2 separate regions of the Homo sapiens genome follow, and region 1 is linked to region 2. The links are contacts of gene promoters, found by promoter capture Hi-C in blood cells and fetal thymus (Javierre and others, 2016). All regions are on one chromosome and are shown on one strand. Each heading gives the region's core, a stretch centred on a gene start or on the middle of the fragment in contact. The rest is flanking DNA. Distances are from core to core; before and after follow the strand shown. Region 1 has its middle 28 kb from the start of UBR2. Region 2 holds the start of FRS3 (fibroblast growth factor receptor substrate 3).

Evidence for each region. Contacts are between HindIII fragments. The CHiCAGO score rates a contact against its expected background, and 5 or more counts as called.
Region 1: a contact is called between a fragment that was not itself captured here and the fragment with the promoter of FRS3 in region 2, in 3 of 17 cell types (total CD8 T cells, total CD4 T cells and activated CD4 T cells). The highest score is 8.3, in total CD8 T cells.

The regions. Positions count from the first base shown.
Region 1 is chr6:42,532,841-42,539,863 of GRCh38, forward strand. No RefSeq gene overlaps it. Among named protein-coding and RNA genes, the nearest start is that of UBR2, 28 kb to the right of the region's middle. The HindIII fragment of the contact is 228 bases long and covers 5,451-5,678 here.
Region 2 is chr6:41,775,470-41,782,015 of GRCh38, forward strand. FRS3 (fibroblast growth factor receptor substrate 3) reads right to left here and starts at 4,431. Exons shown (of 7, transcript NM_006653.5): 1 at 4,347-4,431; 2 at 2,564-2,707; 3 at 1,453-1,541; 4 at 1-136. The coding sequence starts at 1,518. PRICKLE4 (prickle planar cell polarity protein 4) reads left to right here and starts at 5,313. Exons shown (of 8, transcript NM_013397.6): 1 at 5,313-5,357; 2 at 5,881-6,051. RefSeq lists silencers at 4,157-4,306, 4,337-4,746, 5,027-5,096. The HindIII fragment of the contact is 6,259 bases long and covers 3,319-6,546 here.

The sequences.
Region 1 (7,023 bases), core at 4,315-6,814, 760 kb after region 2:
AAAAAAAAAAAAGTTAAAAAGTTAAATAAAATTTAGGCCGGGCGTGGTGGCTCACGCCTGTAATCCCAACACTTTGAGAGGCCGAGGAGGGCGGATCACGAGGTCAGGAGATTGAGACCATCCTGGCTAACACGGTGAAACCCCGTCTCTACTAAAAATATATATTTTTAAAAAATTAGCCAGGCGTGGGGGCGGGCGTCTGTAGTCCCAGCTACTCGGGAGGCTGAGGCAGGAGAATGGCGTGAACCCGGGAGGTGGAGCTTGCAGTGAGCCGAGATCGCGCCACTGCACTCCAGCCTGGGCAACAGAGCGAGACTCCGTCTCAAAAAAAAAAAAGTAAAATAAAAGTTAAAGGAAAGAAAATGGGCAGGGATATGTCCTCAAATTCATTTTAACCTGTTTTCCATCCAATCCTCAATCAGACAGGCTTGGGAGAAGTTACTTCCTCTCTCACCTCTTTCTCTGCTCTTAGGAGGGGTCCAAAAAAAAATGAACAACCAGCGTAAGTAATCCCCATGTGTCTGCTACTCTAGTTGCCACTGACCATCTAGAAATAAAGTATGAACCACAAATGTGAGCTACAGATGAAATTTTAAATTTTCTAGTAGTCAAATTTAAAAAGATAAAGAGACGAGTGAAATACATTTTAACAATATATTTAATTTAACCCAAATATATCCAAAACAATATGTTTCAATGTGTATTTAATATGAAGCATTATGAACTATTTTATGTTTCTTTTTTATAGTAAGTCTTTTTGATATCTGGTGTGTATTTTACACTCACAGTTCATAAGGATCCATGAAACACCTATTATAGGCCAGGTGCAGTGGCTCACACTTATAATCCCAGCACTTTGGGAGGCCAAGGCGGGCAGATAATTTGAGGTTAGGAGATCGAGACCAGCCTAGCCAACATGGTGAAACCCCATCTCTACTAAAAATACAAAAATTAGTTGGGCATGGTGGTGAGCGCTTGTAGTCCCAGTTACTCAGGAGGGGGAGGCAGGAGAATCACTTGAACCCGACAGAGGCAGAGGTTGCAATGAGCCAAGATTGAGTCAATGCACTCCAGCCTGGACGACAGAGACTCTGTCTCAAAAAAAAAAAAAAAGGAAGAAACACCTATTACACTGCTGGGTAATTAGTACACTCTCAGCAATGCTCAGTTCCTTCTTTCTCAAGTGGAGGAGATGTACCAGGTCAGGGATATACCAGATCAGGTGTTAGGTGGAGTGAGGAGTGACTCCTAATTTTCCTCTGAAATGGTGTCTTTCAACCATTTTAGCCCGTGTTGCCTTTTGTTCCCTTCCTTTTTTTTTTTTTTTTCCTGAGGTAAGGTCTGGCTCTGTCGCCCAACCTGGAGTGGCACGATCTCAGCTCACTGCAGCCTCTGCCTCCCAGGCTCAAGTGATCCTCCCACCTCAGCTCCACGAGTAGCTGGGACTACAGGCATGTGCCACCACACCCGGCTAATTTTTGTAGAGATGAGGTTTCGCCATGTTGCCCAGGCTGGTCTCGAACTCCTGGCCTCAAGAAATCAGCCCACCTTGGCCTCCCAAAGTGCTGGGATTACAGGCTTGAGCCACCATGTCTGGCCTTCCTTTCTCTTTCTGTTACAAATCCTCCTCTAAAACGTCTTCCTCATTTTGAGGCTTCTGTCTAAACCTTGGATGAGCCTTGCATTAATTAAGGGTTTTAAATTAAAAATAATTTCTTTCTCATTACAAAAACTACATGTGCTTCTTAGACAAAAATCAGAAAATATAGAAAAGCAGAAAGAAGAACCACCAGATTCTCACCATCTGCAGGACAATCAGTCTAACACCTAGGATATATCCTCACAGCAGCTGTTTTCATCCTGGCTGCTCATCAAGATCTCTGGGAGTTTAAAGCTATATGGTGCCAGTCTTTACCCACAGACACTAGGATTAAATTGATCTGGGTACCACCTGGGCATGAGGATTATTTTTTCCATGCTCCCCAGGTGAATTCTAATGAGCACCCAAGACAAGAACCAGTGTTCTAGAGCAGTGAGCCTCACACTTTAATGTGCACACCAATCACGTGGAGATCTTGTCAAAATGCAGATTCTCAGTCAGTGGTCTGGAGTGGGGCTCCAGATGCTACATTTCTATCAAGCTCCCTGGTAATGCTGGGGTAGCAGGTCTGCCAACCATACTTTTACTATTCCAGGCCCTTAGGTATACATAGATGTACATACTTTTTTCCCCTAAAAATTAGATCCAATCATAGTCCTGTTTTACAACGTGCTTTTTTAATTCAATGATCCATCATGACCTTCTTTGCATGTTAAACAAAATGGACTTCTGCAAAACCAATTTGATTGGCTACACGAGATTCTATTTTAAAGACATACTGTAAGTTACTTAGTGCAGTGATGTGGAGATGGGGTTTGCAGCTGGTATAGAGTCTGGGAATTTCAGCACCCCCCTCCATTCTGGTTGCAGAGGTCAAGTATGGGGGTCCCCGAGTAATTCTGATACACTATCCTTCTTTCCTCTTCTCAGACCTTGAGAACCACTGATCTATTAAGTTCCCATTTGGGGGAACTTAGATTTCCAAACATTTGGCATTACAAACATAGCAAAAAGAATTATTTTTTTGGAAAAAAAAAAGAGAAAAAAAAATCAGCCACACCAATCCTGTGAGGTAGGTGTTATCACTGTAATCATTTTACAGATAAGTGTCTCCTAGAAATCTGTATTTTTAAAAATTTACCCATGAGGTTCTGCCAATCATCTAGATAGGGAATCACTGAAATTCTTATAGGAAGATCATGGTGTTTCCTGGATAAAGCCAAGCTCAGAGTGCTGGGTACACAAACAGTCCCTGTGCTGAGGAGCAAGTTCAGAGCCACGTGTCTTCTTCTTTCTTTCTTTCTTTTTTTTTTTGAAACAGTGTTTCACTCTTGTCGCCCAGGTTGGAATGCAGTGGTGCAATCTTGGCTCACTGCAACCTCCGCCTCCTGGGTTCATGCGATTCTTCTGCCTCAGCCTCCCAAGTAGCTGGGACTACAGTAACTGGGAGCACAAGCCACCAGGCCTGGCAAATTTTTCTTATTTTTAGTAGAGACAGGGTTTCACCATGTTGGCCAGGCTGGTCTTGAACTCCCGACCTCAGGTGATCTGCCCACCTTGGCCTCCCAAAGTGCTGGGATTACAGGTGTGAGCCACCACACCCAGCCCAGAGCCATGGGTCTTCTGTGTCCACTGGCGAATGGATCAGGGGTGGAAAACCAATGCAGGGTCAGCCAATGAGTGGCCCAGCCAGCAGCAGCCCGTGAGGGGCTCCACTGTAAAAACTCCTGTCCACCAAAGAAGAGGCAGTGCCATGAGGTCATAGAAGCCATTGAGAACCAGAACTCTTGATAAGTAGAAGCTTGTAGAGAACAGAAGCCATGAGGCAAAGAAAAGAAGGGTTAGAGGTGAGCTGGTAGTGGCAAAAGTGTGAGAATCAGAGGCAGAAGGAGGCTGTGTCACAGTCATGTCAAAAGGTAGACAATCTCCTGCTGAGAGGGGGACACGTTACTGTCCCCAGAGCTCTGTATCCTGGGCCCCACTTCTGGTTCCCCAGCCATGCTGTAGCTGCAATGAGGCCCAGCTGGGCAGCCACTCTGGTGCCGGCAGTGCCCTGATTCCCCCAATTACCATGTGGGTTCTTCACAATAATTATGTAACCTACCCTCCCACTGGAGGAAGAGAATTATTTGAGATAAACCAAAGAAAGCCATTTACTACAAGCAAGAGAGCTTAGCACATACTTTAAGTAATTAGATTCATTTATTAAACTTTTGAATAAAGGATTTAAAATGTGATTGCAATGGGAAGAAGTGTGGAAGAGGATGGGAAAACACAGGGTAACTGAAGGAAGTGAAGACTAGGGGGTCCCTGGGGTAGGAAGAGAGAGGAAAGACATTGCAAAGAGGGCAAAATGAGGGAGAAGGAGGGGGCAAACTTCTTTATCCACAACCAGTCCAGGCTATTCCAGTCAGAGAGAGAACCCAACTGGAGGCTAGTGTCAGAGGGCAGGAGCAGCTGAGCAGCACAGGGTTGTCCAGGAGAAGATGTTGAGAGGTGGTGTGATACTCAGAGCACGTTCGATGGTGCAGGGAGCAGGTGAGTCCCCCGAGGGGGCCTTGCTCTGTTGATGACTAATCAGAAGTAACAAGATTTTCTGACTTGGAGTTCACTCTCCACTCACAACCAGAATAAAGACCCTGGTCTACTTTCAGAGGACAGAGCTTGCACATCCAAGAAGTTCCTACCACTTCCCCTAAGACAAAAGATGTGGAAGTGAGAACAGGAGACTAAGGGATCAGCATCTTCCTGCTAACCATGGGGTGGATCGGTTTAGGCAAGTCCCCAGCTGCTATCGAACTCCCAGACAGGCCTGACCCTTAACAGCCTCTCTCCATGAGCAGGAGCTTTATTCACTTATTTAGTGACAGAAGCATCAGTCCCAGAAGACATATAGAATAATAGTAACACCAACAATAACAATCACTTATAGGTCCTCACTTATGGGCCTGACATCCTGTCAGGAGCCTTTTACCCAATATCTCACTTCATCTTCACATCAGCCTTCTGAGTGAGGTAAGTTCGATGACTGTCCTCATTTTCCAGATAAGCTGAGGCTCAGGGAGGTTCATTAATTTGATGGAGCTAATTAGAGCAGAAATGGGATCCACACTAGATCTGTCTAATCCAGAGTCTATGCTCTTGGTCACTTGAGCTATACTGACTCCCTCATCAATTATGACAGTTAAAAGGGAATATGGAAGTGGTCTAAGCTCCAAGCCCATCTAAAATATGAAGGCATCTTCGAAACCTCCCCATTTCACTGTACACTTGGAGAATTGTAAGAGTCATCCCATTTGGCCACTGTCTGATGGTGAAATCAAGCCTTGGGCAGCAGCAACTTCCACTTGCAGACATAATCAGAAGTCTCTCATTTATAATACACTGAACTTTTTCTAGAACCTTCCACCTCAGTGTTTCCCCAGGTAGTAGATAAACTGTGAAAAGCCAGGTCTTGAGTTAGCCAAATCAAGCTGATGCAATGAATCAAACACCATCTTCATCAAAGAAAAGGGATCAGCAAATCACTAAACCAACACAGCACTTTGCTGTTTGTCAGCAAGCAGCAACCCCAGACCTTGTTCCAGTGGCCCAGAGACAGCCTTACCTATCTCCTCTGGGAAATCTTCTACAGGACTCTTGAGGAGACTACAGAATCGTGAGGCCAAGTCTGAGAGCTTTGGAGAAAGGAGTAGCAGAAATTCCTTTTACTTCGTCCTTTTTTTATCAGGCTTGTCTTGTTGTTGGCTGAAGAAAAACAGTCTGTTGAACTACATTCTTGTCCAAACAACACAATTAACTTCCTCCTCTTCCTTTTCCTTTCCCTTCTCCTCCTTTTCCGGCTGCCTGAAGCTTCGAGAAAGTAAATTTTGTGTCTTTCATTTAATATTACCTCTGTAGTTGCTGAGACCACAGCTTGCGGAGCTGACTTACAAGTAGGCATCACCCTATAAACTATTATTTGATTTGAAGGAGGGTAGAGGGTCAGTCTGTTCAGGTACTGGACACTAATTTTTTAAATTACTCACCAGATAGTTCCAATGCTGTTAAACTGTTCCAAAGTATAAGAGAGAAAGCAAGCTTTTAGATTATTTTTTTACAAAAGCAATATGACACTGATACTAAAACCTAAAAAATACAGCATTGAATAGAAAAAATGCAGGCAAATTTCTCTCATGAATATGGATTTTAAAAATCTGTAGGGGAGGCCAGGCGCAGTGGCTCACACCTGTAATCCCAGCACTTTGGGAGGCCAAGGTGGGTGGACCACCTGAGGTCGGGAGTTCCTCCTGGCCAATATGGTGAAACCCCGCCTCTACTAAAAATACAAAAATTAGCTGGGCGTGGTGGCAGGCACCTGTAACCCCAGCTACTCGGGAGGCTGAGGCAGGAGAATTGTTTGAACCTGGGAGGTAGAGGTTGCAGTGAGCCGAGATCGTGCCACTGCACTCCAGCCTGGACAACAGATCAAGACTCCATCTCAAAAAAAAAAAAAATCTGTAGGGGACCAAAAGGTATTTGGAAAAATTATACATTCATTTCTGACACAAACCTTTTAATAAAAAAGAGAGATATTTCCTTAACACAATAAATAAATGTATGCAATCAGATCCAAACCAGCAGCATGCTTAATGGTGAAATACTAAAAGAATCCCAGCAAATCCAGGAAAAAGACAAGGATGCCCGTATCACTACTACTATTTCACATTGTAGTGAAGGTATAAGCCAATAGTATTTTAGAAGGAAAATAAATATTAAAATAAATATTAAGGTATAAAAGTTAGTAAGGGAAGGAAAATTTTCATTATTTGCAGTTGTTATAGTACTGTGTACTTTGAAAACTTAAGAGTAAGCAAATGCACTTCAGTATCTAATTGCAAAATAAATATACAAATGAATAGCTATGCTATAAGTAAATGACTCAGACCTAAGAAAACAGAATCCTAAGGTGGCAGTGGAGAAAGATAGAAATCAAATCAATTTACACGACAGAATCTCCCAAAAGGCTCAGGAATGGATGGAACCATTTATCTTTGGAAATGAAAGAGAGATAAAACAGAGAACTGATGGAAATACCACTTAAGAAGCAATTAGAGGCCTGGCATAGTGGCTCACACCTGTAATCGCAGCACTCTGGGAGGCTGAGGTGGAAGGATCACTTGAGGCCAGTAATTCAAGACCAGCCTGGGCAACATAGTGGGAACTTGTCTCTACCAAAAATAAATAAATAAATAAAAATAGCGCACACCTGTAGTCCTAGCTACTCAGGAGGTGGAGGTAGAAGAATTGCTTGAGCCCAGGAGTTCAAGGTTACAGTGGGTTATGATTGTGACACTGCACTCCAGCCTGGGCGATAGAGCACAACTCTCTCTCTCTAGTTAATAAATAAATAAATAAAAGCAATTAGAGCCTTAGATGCCCCC
Region 2 (6,546 bases), core at 3,181-5,680:
CGTAGCCATAGCGCCGCAAGCAGAGATAAGGCCAGCGGACGGCCTCACGCCGATGCAGGTGCAGCACCAGCTCACTCTGCGTCAGCTCCATCACCCCAGAGCCCAGCTCCACCCCCTCATCATCCACATTTGTCACCTGGAGGGGAGAAGACAGAAGGGTCAATGAGTGAGTCCAACAAGTGTTTGCATGGGTCCCTGAGCCACTGGGAGACAATCTGATGCAGGACAAGAGGTGGGGAACCAAAGGTCACATCCGACTATCACAGACTCTACTGAATGCCACATAACTACATGAAGCAGTGCCATGGACCCACGGCAGTTCTCTGGGCAAATCCTACTTCTCTAGTGCTGAGTTTTGTCATATGGACAGTGAGGGAAGAGGTAGGTAGCTGACTTCCAAGGTCGGTTTGTTAGATAACAAATGTTAGACGACCCTAGACAGCCCATGCCTTAGTATCCAAGGGCCAGATGTTAATGGGGAAGGGGTTCAATTGTAAATTCAAAATCTTGAGACTGGGACACCCTGACCTAGGAAAGTCAAGCCCAAGGCAGAACCAATGCACATCTCCTCTACCACCTCCCCAACTGTGTGCCCTTACTGAGGGCTCCCTCTTCTGGTGGGCAGGAGAAACATGTGCTTCAACATGCCCCAGAATGAGGAAGGAGGAGGCTCCCTCTACAGAGAGGTGGGCAGGGGAGAGCACAGGTCGACTTGGGTCTGCCCTCAGCTTCCCACAGCAAACAGCAAACACTGATGTTGTGCTTACTGTGTGCTAAGCACTATTTAATTTATTTATTTATTTATTTTTTGAGATGGCATCTCGCTCTGTCACCCAGGCTGAAGTGCAGCGGTGCAATCTCAGCCCACTGCAACCTCCACCTCCCGGGTTCAAGTGATTCTCCTGCCTCAGCCTCCCAAGTAGCTGGGATTACAGGCGTGTGCCACCATACCTGGCTAATTTTTGTATTTTTAGTAGAGACGGGGTTTCGCCATGTTGGCCAGGCTGGTCTCGAGCTCCTGACCTCAGGTGATCCGCCTGCCTTGGCCTCCAAAAGTGCTGGTATTACAGGTGTGAGCCACCGTGCCTGGCCACTAAGCACTATTTTAAATACTTTACGTATATTAACTCACAAATACAGAATTTTGTTTTCTCTAAAAAAAAAAGGGGGGGGGATATATAAAGTTATAAAAATACACTGACAACAGTTCCAAAAGCACCATTATGGCATTTCTTCATTCTTGGTAGTATCAAGAGCCATGAAAACAGCAGTGGTCTGGGCCTCTTTTCCTCAGGCTACTTGAGAGGGTGTGAGCTCAAGAAGTCTCCATAAGCCCACAACCTCAGCCTGGCATTTGATTTGCTGTTAGAGAAGCTGAGGCAACTCCATTAAATTGTGTCTGAGCCCAAGAGGCCATGTTGGGAACACAGGAGAGGAGAGGGCTCTGGGTACCTTGAACTTGGTGGGGTGGTTGTCTGGAACGCTGTCTCTGTTCAGGCAGCTGCAGCAGCTCCCCATGGTGTCAGAGCAGCCAGCCTGCCCTAGGAAAAACATACAGGATATGCAGGTCACCAACTTCAGCTTCAAAAAACCCTGCTCTGGGGAACTTGGGCAGAAGCACGTCATTGTGATCACCTACTCTGTCCAAGAGACTGTGTGATACAGACCCCCCCTCAAAGACTTCACATTCTCAATCCAGGGCCAGACACACATTGGATAAACGTTAATTCAAGTTACAATGTGTTAAGGATGAATGCCGATGGGGGGCTGGAGAGAGCTTCTCAGAGGTAACATTTGATCTGGACCTTGAGAAGTATGTAGGATTCTGACCCATGTAATGACAAGGAAGGCAGGGACACAGGCAGGAAGAAAAGTAGGGGTCCAGGAGAAGTGATCTGCAGCAGATGGAGGTGGGTGCCAGCCCGAGCCCCTTATTTGGATTCAGCAAAGAAATTGTCACTTGGGGGTCTCAGACACTTTGGCCTGTGCCTGTCTCTTTTTTCCTCCCTTTTTACCTCATCCATTCCACTTCATCCAAGTTCTCTCTTCTCCCTTACTACCATCCCAACATCCAGTGCAAATTTATCTTTCTGATGTCCTCTTCAAATGAGTTGTTACATTGTGATCATAAAGATATATTCAGAAGACTGAACATTTAAAACAGTGCAGTTTTAATAACCTCAAGTGGATATTTCTTCATTTAAAAAAAATGCTGGGTTTCCTTCCCTTTTTCTGAAGGGGAGACCAGAGGCCTTACTATTTGGCTCTTCCCCTCCAGGATTCCAGTACTTGGATTATATGTCACAATAGTCAGGACTGTGCCTAGAATGAAGAGGACACCACCCAAGCTTGAATGACCTAAGGGAACAAGAAATGCATGGACCAATACCAAGCAGAAGTTTTAAGGGGTTGCAACTTGTCACAAGAAATAAGTCTGTAGGATTGGCTATCCTTCTAGAACTCCTGCTGAATGGTAAAGCTTTGAACAACCAGGTGACCTGTACCCTCTGTTCCTCCCAACTTGGGAAACGCCATAAAACTGACCCCTATACACAGCTCTTACCTCACCCAGGCCATCGGGGAGCTGACCGTGGGAGGGGCATGGGGAAGGGTTCCCACTTTATTCCCCCCGTCCTTGGTGGGCTGTCATGGCAAACAGTCTGCAGAGAAGTCACCCGGATCCCTCTGGGATACACCTGGGGCTCACCTAGCATAGGAAACAGAGACACTGATTAACAAAACCTTCTATCTTCACCCCCAACTGTTAATGAAAACTGACCTAACAGTCCATCCCACCTGGGTATCTGTTCCAGCCCTAATGGGACAAAAACACCAATGAAGAAAGTAAAATCAAGGGCAAAGGGAGCACAAATCCCAAGCCCCACGGGCCCTGAGAGGGACAGACACCAAGAACATCAATAAGTTTGAAGTCTAAGACGACCAAAGACCTTTTAAGTCACTTTAGATCTCCCTCTGAGTCCTGTTACAACAAACACCAAAACCATCACCTTACCTTTGCAGAGAACTTTAACTCTACAAAGAGCTTTCTCAAAAGGACACTGTGATATAGTAGAGACAGCACTGGTTTAAGACTCAGGAAACCAATATATCGGTCAGTTTTGTTGCTACTAAGTATCTGGGAGACTTAAGTCAACGCCCCCCCCAACTCCCACCTAAGGCCTTAGTTTTTGGGGGAACCATCTATAAACTGGGGAGCTTCTAGCTTAAATAACTTGCAGAGGTAAAAACGTAAGACAAACTTCACTAAAATTGACATGTTCATCTTCCAAGACAGGCTGCTTCAATTTCGCATTTGGAAGCTTGATAGATTTTCTGCTCCCCAAGCTCTGAAAGGCCTAATTTTAACATAAATGTTAACAGTAAGCCAAAATTTCAGGATATCTGAGCCCAAGGTAGACAAGTCAACAAGCCAGGACTCTGCAGACCCTGGACATCCCACATTCCTGCTCTGGAGAAACACTTCCCAGGGCCCCTTGCACCCTGCATCCTTGGACAACTTCCAGGTAAAAGGACCCCATCCCCTTGGTCTGGCTTATTTTCTGGAAGGAAGAAGCAGGCTCAGGGAGGTGTGCACAGACTAAAGATAGGTTGCTGGGAAAATACTGGGGCTTGAGCCACCGACGGGGGCACGGCGCGGGCACTGAAACGAAGAACTCTAGGGTGCAAGATGGGGGAGGGGCTGAATTTCCCTATCACCATCTCTTCTCCTTAAGATATCAGGATGTATCAGATAGCCCACTGAGGAGGGACTGCATTGAGTGGAAATGGGGAGAGGCCTCTGGTCTGGGATAGGTATGGATCAGGGGCAGGAGTGAGAGGGGGGTGTGGGGGCTGAAAACGTATGAGGACGTTTGGGGAAACATGAGCAAGAATTTTGGATGTGGGCATTTTGGATAGTGCAAGGAGAATGGGGATATGAGGGATCCTAGGAATTTCCGGGCAGTGGAAGCATTTGGGGGCATCCAAGAGAAATGGTGGGTCCGTGGGCATAGCAGGAGATTTGTTGAGTGAATGAGGGGGTTCTGAGGGCTCCAGGAGATGCGATGATGTGTCCAGGGCGGAGAGGGTAGAGGTGGGTTGGGGGAGCCAGAGGCTGCAGGACAGGCTACAGGACTGTCAAGGGGAATTTCTACATGCCCGTAAGGAATGAGGAGGTCTGGGTGCGCGCTGTCCCCGGATCCCCGCCCCCAGCCCCGGTGCTCCGCCGCCTGCCCGCCCGCCCGGGGCTTCCTAGGGAGGGAGTGGAGACTGCGGCGCGGCGCGGCGCGGCGCGGCGCGGCCTCGGTGAAGCCGCCTCGTCCCCGCCCCGCCGCGCCCCGACTCACATCGCCCCGCGGCCCGGGCGGCGCCGGGCCCCGCTCCCGGGTCCCGCTGCAGCAGCCGCCGCCCGCCCGGAGCTAAGGCCTCCCCGCCCCGCCCCGCCCCGCGGCCGCGGGGTCGGAGGTCACCGGCAGCACCAACGAGACGCTGCGGGCTGGCGGACCCGAGCGGGGGCGACCGGCACGCAGCCTAGAAGGTCCCTTTGGAGGACTTTGCAGTCGGGAGCAGTGAGCATGCGCAGACGCCAGAGGGCGCTCCTGGCCAGGGGCTGAGCAAGCCCGGAGGGGACAGGGCGGAGCCTGCGGCGGAGGCGGGGCGCGGAGGCGGGGCTGAGGACACCAAAGTTGGGGGTGGTCCGGGGAGCGGAAAGGGGACGGAGGGTTGGGCGAGAAACGAAGGGAAGGGGAGAGGGTCTGAAGGGACCTGAAAGGAGAAGGGCAAGACGATGGAACCTGGAAGAGGGTTGAGGGGAGGGGAAGGGGCCAGGGGGACCACTGGGGACAAGGGGGAGAGAACTGAAGGGAAACACGCGGAGGAGCGGGGCTGGGAGACCACAGGGAGAGTTTGGGGAGACCTGGGAACTGCGGAGAGACAGGGCTGCGGGCCCGGCGAGGCGTTTCCATTCAGCGAATGGTTGAAAACCCAGCGTAAACGCGGCTCCCGGCGTCTGCTGGATGCCTGCCGGGCGCAGTCCGAGCCAGAGAGCCCTTGCACCTGCATGGCAGAGGCCATGGAGCCCGCACATTTCCACCCTGAGATCCCATAAATGTGGTTTTGTTTTCCTTTTTTTTTTCCTCCCCCCAATCTGCAGCTCCAGGCCCCTCCCTGAGCCGCCCCTCTCCACCAGCCGGGGAGGGGCGGGCGGGGGCCGCTGGGGCGTGGGAGAGGAAGGGCCGCGCTATTAGGGCGGGCGGGGGCGGACGGGGGCGGGCGCTGAAGCCTTGGGGTGGGGACCGGGTGAGGGGCCTGACGGCAGAGTCGGTCCAGAACTGCCCGGACAGCGACGCACAGCGAGGGTGAGACCCCAGCGGAGTCCTGGTCCCCTCCCCTAAAATCCCAGCAGCCAGACCGGGAACCCCAGCGGACTCGGGAAACACCGCGTCCCAGCCCCGGAGGCGGGCCCGCCAAGTTCCAGAAAAACTCTGGGGATCTATCGAGAGGGCAGTTGGCGGGACTGGGCACTCCCCTTCCTTCTCCCTCCCACTGTCCCCAGAAATCTTCCCATCCCTCCACCTCCCCAAGCCCTAAGTCCTCTCGGGCTCTGCCCTTCAGGGCAGCGGGTGTTGGGGATGTCCAGCTCCTGAGCCCTCTTGCACGGAGGCTCTGCACGGAGGCAAGACAAGGGGTTCAGCTCTGTCCCTTATCTGAGGTGGGAGGGGGAAGGGAATTATGGAAGGAATCCAGCTGGCCTGTTAGTAAGGGTGTTCCAGTGCTAGGTGGAGGTGGAGTTTGGCTGCCTTTGGGGAGATTGGAAGGGTGAGGAATAGAGGCCTGATTTCTGAGTGTTGTTTCTGTGTTGGACAATTCTATGCAAACTAGAGCCAAAATGGAAGAGGGTGCAAGTCCCCTCCTGGGGCCCCAGACGCCCCCTCCTTTCTTGCTGCCTGGAGCAGGGGCAGTGCTGTTAGTGGCTACTCCTGGTGTGAACAGCCCATCCTGGCCACCTTCCACAGGAAACCTGACCTGAAGGACAGAAGAGGAAGGAAGCAGGTGGGTGTGAAGCCAGGAAGGAGGGAAGGGTGGCACAGGACATTTGAAGTGGGAGTGGAGGGGCGGTGCTGAGGAGGGTTCAGTGCTGGGAAGCAATATTAACTGTTACAGTCCAAACCCTCACCTCAACCCCAGTACGAATCCCTGGCCCAGTCTTAGAGGCCAGGGATTTGATGATGACCCTCCTGTGCCCAGCTACTTTCAGAATCTATCCCAGCTCTCAGAAGCCAGGTCCCCCTAAGGCTTCCCTTAGCCTCTGGTATGATCTTGGGCAAGTTAATTAACTTGTTTCAACTGTCAAGTGGAATGAAAGAGATTACCTCATAAGATTATTGTGAGGATGGACTATATTATGTAATATTCTAGAAGAGTCCTTGGCACAGAGTAAATATTATTAAAAAGTTTGCTCTGGTTATTTTTTTCTCCAGGGTTTTTGTATGTCTGTCCCGAGCTCTGATTGATCCCATTCTACCTGGTTTCATCTTTGTCTTACCC